Regions from separate parts of the Homo sapiens genome. Here region 2 is linked to region 1. Evidence: promoter capture Hi-C in 16 types of primary human blood cells and fetal thymus (Javierre and others, 2016). All regions are on one chromosome and are shown on one strand. Each heading gives the region's core, a stretch centred on a gene start or on the middle of the fragment in contact. The rest is flanking DNA. Distances are from core to core; before and after follow the strand shown. Region 1 holds the start of NR6A1 (nuclear receptor subfamily 6 group A member 1). Region 2 holds the start of GAPVD1 (GTPase activating protein and VPS9 domains 1).

Region 1 (3,075 bases), core at 179-2,678:
CTGGAATCCCCATCACTTCTGGTGGACTTCATCAGTGCTGGAAAGGGACAATATTGTTGCTATCTCATAGAGCAGGTATGAGGTTTAGACGGCAGAGCGTTAATGTAAGTCTCCCAGATTACGTATGAAATACAGTTTCACCAGGGTTGGTAAGGTCCAGTTGCCCCCAAGTGCAGAGAAGCGTTGCAACTTTCGTAGCAGGTGAGGGACGGGGTATGGTGCGAAATGTGGGCAAGGGTCAGGCCAAGCAGGGATGCGAATGCCAGGACGAGGACTTAAAATTAGGCAAAAAAAAAATAAAAGGGCTAAGGGATTGGTGGGGCGGGTGGGGCAGGAGAGGGCGAATGAGCGGCCACCGAGGAAGCTGCAGCATAATCCGGCAGAGCAGAAGTGGGCAAAGCACCAACGTTCTCGTTCTTTGTCTTCAAGTGGGCCAGGTAGGCCTTAGACCCTTGGCGGCAGCAGCGAAATCCTTTCCCGATGGGGTCGCCGAAGACGGACACCCCGGCGGGCCTAGTGACCGGTGGCCGCGCGCCACCTGGTGGCCGCAGCGGGTGGATTCGGCCGGGAGCCGCTGCAAAATTCGGGATTTTGCTTCCGGAAAGCTTCGGGAAACTGAGGTGGGAGGGGCAGGGGTTTGCGATCTTCCAACTTGATCCTGTCCTTATTCCAACCCCCTTTTACAGATAGGGAAACTGAGGAAAGGGGAAGGCAAACAAGGCTGGGCAAGGGATCCCTCTTAAACGGAAGGTTTCAAGACACCTGGGGTCAAGAGCCTAGGGCTTTCTTTAATAGCCCCAATGGCCCGGAGCTTAGTTTGCCCATCTGTTCTATGGGCAGGGGGAAAATGAAAGGGGAGGAGGGGAAACTTTAGTCTTTGCCGCCCACCCGGAGGTAAAAAGTCTTTAAAGACTACCCCGGAAAGAAGAGTTTTATATATTCCATTTGCATACGAACGCAGTCACCTCGAGTTAAACTCCGGTCCTTTAATCTCCGGTCCAATTTGTCCCGCAGCGGCAGGGAGAGGCCCACGTGAGTACCTTCAAGCCCCGCCTCCAGGGCCCCGCCCACAGGGCTGGGCTTCGTTGCACGTGCTCACCCGGCTGCCTCGCGATCCACCTCCTCGCAAAGACTCATTGTTGGGGTGGGGGGTTACGAGGACTCTTAGGGAACTTTGATCAGGTAGAAATCACAATCAAGACAAGGCCCGGAAGTATCCGCTTACTACATAGACATCAAACGCTTTGTCATGGTTCTTGATATTGACAGACTTTAGCTTTCCCTTCTCAGGACTTCTTATCCCTCCTTCCACCCCTTCAGTTGGTGCGGTCGGCGTGGCCGGCCTCGCTGAGCGGACTCCAACTTCCAGCGTGCCCCGCAGGGCCTTGCGCGGCAGCGGCGTGTGACGTCAGGGGAGGGAGCTGGCCAGTGCTGAGGGGGCGCGGCGCGGAGGGGCGCGGAGCGGCGCGGAGCCGGGCGGCTCGGGGCCCAGAGAGAGCCGCGGCCGGGAGCTCGCGGGCTCCTGACAACCTCCTCCCCTCGGCGGACGACGACCACGGCGACTAGGGCGCCGGTCATGGCGGAGCAACAAACCCGGCGCGGACCCTAGGCACCACCGCATGGAGCGGGACGAACCGCCGCCTAGCGGAGGGGGAGGCGGCGGGGGCTCGGCGGGGTTCCTGGAGCCTCCCGCCGCGCTCCCTCCGCCGCCGCGCAACGGTGGGTGAGGGGCCTGCGACGCCCGGGCCAGGCAGGAACCGGCTTCCTGAGCCTCCGCCAGGGATCCCCCTCCTCTCTGCCGACCCTCGCCCTGGGAAGCCGCAGCGGCCCCGCGGCCCCTTAGGGTGGCCCTTCACCCCGTTCCCCGTTGGCGCGGACCCTCCCTCTCCTCCCCGGTCTCGCTCAGGGTGGATCCTCCTCCTTCGTCCCTGTTCCCTTCTGCGCGGACCCTCCCCCTGCCCGGGTCCCTGGGCACCGAGCTTCATTTCCCCCTCCCCCCGTCCCCTCTGCACAGGCTTCCCCTCCCCCCGTCCCCTCAGCACCAATCCTCCCTCCTCCCCCCGGGTCCCCTCCCCCTGTCTTCCCAGCACCGAACCTTCCCCTCCCCCCGGGCTCCTCAGGTTGGAAGTCCCCACCGCGGTCCGTCAGTGGGGGCATCCCCTCACTCGGGTTCCCTTAACGCAGAGCCTCTCTTTTCCCCTACAGGGGTTCCTCCTCCCACCGAGGACGCTCCCTTCTTGCCCTGTTGACCCGACTCCACAGCACCCTTGTACCGCTCAGCTTTCTAGAGCGTTTTCCTCTTCTGCAGCCTCGAGCGTTCTTCCTTGAATACTACGAGCCCCCCACCTCTGCCGAACCCCCGTTCGCTAGACATCCCCCAGTCGTTTCCTTTTTCGGACCCCTTCGCGCCTCCTGCTTCCCCTGCGCCTCACCTTCCTCAACGCCCCGCGCGCTCTGGCCGGTCTCCGCCCCTGCTCAGCTCCCCTCTCCGCCAGGCAACGGCTTTCCCTGGCCGAGGGCTCCAGCCCGCCCCGGGGCCCCGGACACCTGCCTCCTCCCGGCTTCTGCCCGGCAGGTCCCGGTCCCCACCTCTTAGTCTCAGTTCTCCTCTTTCTTGTCCCGATCCGGGACCTTGGGAGCTGAGAATCCCTCACCTGGCCCGGCCCTTCCTACCGCTCGTCCCTCGCCCCCTCGCCCGGGCCGGGTCCTCAGGTTCCTCGGGGCTTCCTCGCCCTCCTCCCCTTCGCTCCCTCCCCCTGCGGGGTGTTTTATTTGTATCTGTTTGATATTTTCCTCCTCGGTGTTTGCCGCGGAATGTTTTTATTGGTAACGTGTTAGGAGCTTTTGTGAGGTCGTAAAAGGTGAACTTTTGAACTTGGAAAGCGCCCTGGAGCAATTAGCGCAGGCGATCGCCCCGGGAGGCCTGCATTACAAAGGGTGCTCGCACCGGCCGGCAAACGCTCCGGCGGCAAACCCGATTTATTTATTTGCCCTGTTTTCCACCTTTCACATCTCCTCATTTCCGAATAAAGGGAGGCTCTCAGAGATCAGTGCCTCCTCCCCTCGCTGCGCCAT
Region 2 (3,075 bases), core at 178-2,677, 490 kb before region 1:
GGTCTCGATCTCTTGACCTCAATGATCCGCCCGCCTCGGCCTCCCAAATTATTTCAGGAGTTCTTAATCTTTTTGTGCACGGACCTCATTGGCAGTTTGGTGAAGCCTATGGTCCCTTTCTCAGATTTCTTTTAAGTGCATAATTAAATACATGTGATTACAAGGGAAACCAATTATATGGAAATATTAGCAAAACAACAAACTAATATGGTCATAATATATGTACAGCCTTATTATCACATTAAATAACAATGTCTAACGGCGGGTCTAGTAACACCAGAAATTCAAAGAAGTGTTAACCATAAATGATATTCTGAGCTATCTGCAACTGTAAACATGATGCAAAAATATCCGTAATTTTTATTGATCACAAAGTCATAGGCGCTGCTAATGCTACTCTGGCTTGTTGTCCACATTCGTAACTGAAGGAAATAATAAGTTTCAGTTAGCAGTCAATAAAAATAATGATGTCATTTTATCCTCCTTCTAGTGAAAGGACCCTTCTAATTCTATCCATCAATGAACTCCAGTTTAAAACCCCTCTCTAGTTCAAAGTCCTGCTCAGAACTGATTTTCGTCATAAATTTAAAAATAAAAACACTGATTCCTCCTTTGACCTAGTTCTCATCTGAACCTATCACTATGTCTCCCTGTTTTTATGCACATTTATACACAGAACCCTGGGTGTACTTCTGTGGTTTGCCTAGCCAGCACTCACTACAATTTTGCCAGTCAATAAAAGGTGAAGTTAAAAGAAAAGGGATGGAAACAACCAACAGCTCCCTCACTTTCAGACCTCCGACAGCAAGTGGAAAGATGCCAAGTACAGTGAGTGTCTGTGTTAGGTGGGCTGCCCCCAGACCCGTGTGTCCAGCTTGTCAAGCTTCCCTGCAGCACGATATCTTTATCAGCGACACTCAGAAGACATTCCATTTCGTTCTCGCCTCCTATACTCAGTTCCCTACCTGCCGGGCCTCTCGTCTCTGGCCCCCACCCGAGGCCGCCCCGCGGTCCTCCTGTCCCTTCCCATCCCATCCCCCACGCGTCTCTCCCTCTCCTCAGCCCCAGGCCGCCCTGGCTCCTGCGCGCCGCCACATCTCTCCCCTGGGTCTAACCCAGTGTCCCCCGACCCCCACCTCGCCCGACACTGACGGGAAGAGCCCAGGACCCCGGGGTCAGTTGGACCTGACGGCCGGGCAGTCAGAGACAGGCTGCGGCCCTAGGCCGGAGCAACCCGGCCGCGAGGCAGGGAGCCGCTCACAGCCCGCGGACTAAATCGGGACGCGTACTCACCAAGGGGGTCATGCGGGGGAGGACACGGAGGACTCTGTCGGACCGCCACTCGGCCTCGGAGCCGTCGCCCTAGCCGGTGACTGCCCCCGCCGCCGCTGCCGCCACCTTCGCCACTCGCCTGTTGGCTTCCCTGCGTCCTGCAGCGGCGCTGCCGCCACGCCAGCGCGCGTGCGCAGCGCCGCGGGGGCCTCTGGGAGCTGTAGTTCCGCCCGGGCGGCTAGGGGCTCCCACTTCCGCCTTAGGCAGCCCTAGGTCAGCTGCCCCCTGAGGCTGTCGTGGGTGTCCGGGTCCGGAATCGTCTTCCGGAAGGCTGTTCACCAGGCCTGGGCCCTGGTTTCCGCCTGCAGTAATGCTGGACGTGAAGAATCCGACTGAGCAAGTATGTGTAAAGCAAAAATGTAGAGCGTTTTATGCTTTCTGTGACAACGCTCAGTTGCCCAGGACACATTATTCGCATGAATGACTCTCTCTCTTCTCTGTTTCTCTCTCACACGTACGCACACACTACTTACAAACCTCCCTTCCCTTTTTTTTTTTTTTTCGAGACGGAGTCTGGCTCTGTCGCCCAGGCTGGAGTGCAGTGGCTCAATCTCGGCTCACTGCAAGCTCCGCCTCCCGGGTTCACGCCATTCTCCCGCCTCAGCCTCCCAAGTAGCTGGAACTACAAGCGCCCGCCACCACGCCCGGCTAATTTTTTGATTTTTAGTAGAGACGAGGTTTCACCGTGTTAGCCAGGATGGTCTCGATCTCCTGACCTCGTGATCCGCCCGCCTCGGCCTCCCAAAGTGCTGGGATTACAGGCGTGAGCCACCGCTGCCGGCCCCTCCCTTCCCTTTTGTTCTAAGTGCCATTAATTGGTTTGGATGGTATCTGGATTTTCAGTGTAAAACCTGCCTTCCCACTTCTCAGTTTCTAAAATCTTGCTTATCATAAACTTCACCATGCAGTTATTTTAGGTAAGTCAATAAATGAACTGTCTAATAATTTTTGTAACACCATAACTCATATATTCAGAGGTCAAGTTAGCTGAGTTGAACAGTCTAGAAACCTTAAAATTGGAAGATACCTGCTTAAAGGTCACTAGTGCAACTGTTGCCCAGGCAGGAATTCCCTCCTGTACATTCAGCCAGATGGTCATCTTCCTGTTCAACAGTTCAAATTTCAGGGAGCTCACTCCCTCAAGTAATGCAGCCTGCTCCACTGTTGGACAGCTCTAAATGTTAGAAAGTTCTGCCTCCTGCTGAGCTGAAATCTGTTTCCCTTTATTTCCTTCCATTGCTGGTAGTTAGGCTGCCTGGAGCAATACAGAATGTCTTCCACTTGACAGATCTTCAAAAAATTGAGAACAATGATTATATCCTCCAATACTGGGAGTCTCCAGGCAAAAAAAGGAAAAAAGTAATAATCATTTCCCCAGCTATTTCAAATGTCAATCAACTCCCAAACTGCTTTCTATCTACTCACCTCTCTTGATGTCACCTTTAGGGGCATGGTGGCATATGCCTATAATCCTAGCACTTTGCGAGGCCAAGGCAGGAGGATTGCTTGAGCCCAGAAGTTCAAGACCAGCCTGAGCAACATAGTGAAACCCCAACTCTACAAAAAATACAAAAATCAGCGAGGCATGGTGGCTTGCACCTGTAGTCCCAGCTACTAGGGAGGCTGAAGTGGGAGGATCACCAAGCCCAAAAAGGTCAAGGCTGCAGTGAGCTGTGATCATGCCACTGAACTCCATCCTGGGCAGCAGAGTGAAACCTGTCTCAAAACAAAACAGCAACAACA

Evidence for each region. Contacts are between HindIII fragments. The CHiCAGO score rates a contact against its expected background, and 5 or more counts as called.
Region 2: a contact is called between the fragment with the promoter of GAPVD1 here and the fragment with the promoter of NR6A1 in region 1, in 5 of 17 cell types (endothelial precursors, total CD8 T cells, naive CD8 T cells and 2 more). The highest score is 7.9, in endothelial precursors.

Annotation. Positions count from the first base shown.
Region 1 is chr9:124,769,664-124,772,738 of GRCh38, reverse strand. NR6A1 (nuclear receptor subfamily 6 group A member 1) reads left to right here and starts at 1,428. Exons shown (of 10, transcript NM_033334.4): 1 at 1,428-1,719. The coding sequence starts at 1,620. It overlaps LOC124900274 (a long non-coding RNA gene), which reads left to right and starts at 2,259. Exons shown (of 2, transcript XR_007061773.1): 1 at 2,259-3,075. It overlaps LOC107987126 (a long non-coding RNA gene), which reads right to left and starts at 1,382. Exons shown (of 2, transcript XR_001746926.3): 1 at 966-1,382; 2 at 1-37. RefSeq lists enhancers at 1,029-1,288, 1,079-1,646 and silencers at 1,359-1,938, 2,479-2,728. The HindIII fragment of the contact is 3,513 bases long and covers 608-3,075 here.
Region 2 is chr9:125,260,178-125,263,252 of GRCh38, reverse strand. GAPVD1 (GTPase activating protein and VPS9 domains 1) reads right to left here and starts at 1,427. Exons shown (of 28, transcript NM_001282680.3): 1 at 1,294-1,427. RefSeq lists silencers at 1,281-1,410, 1,349-1,530. The HindIII fragment of the contact is 7,780 bases long and covers 886-3,075 here.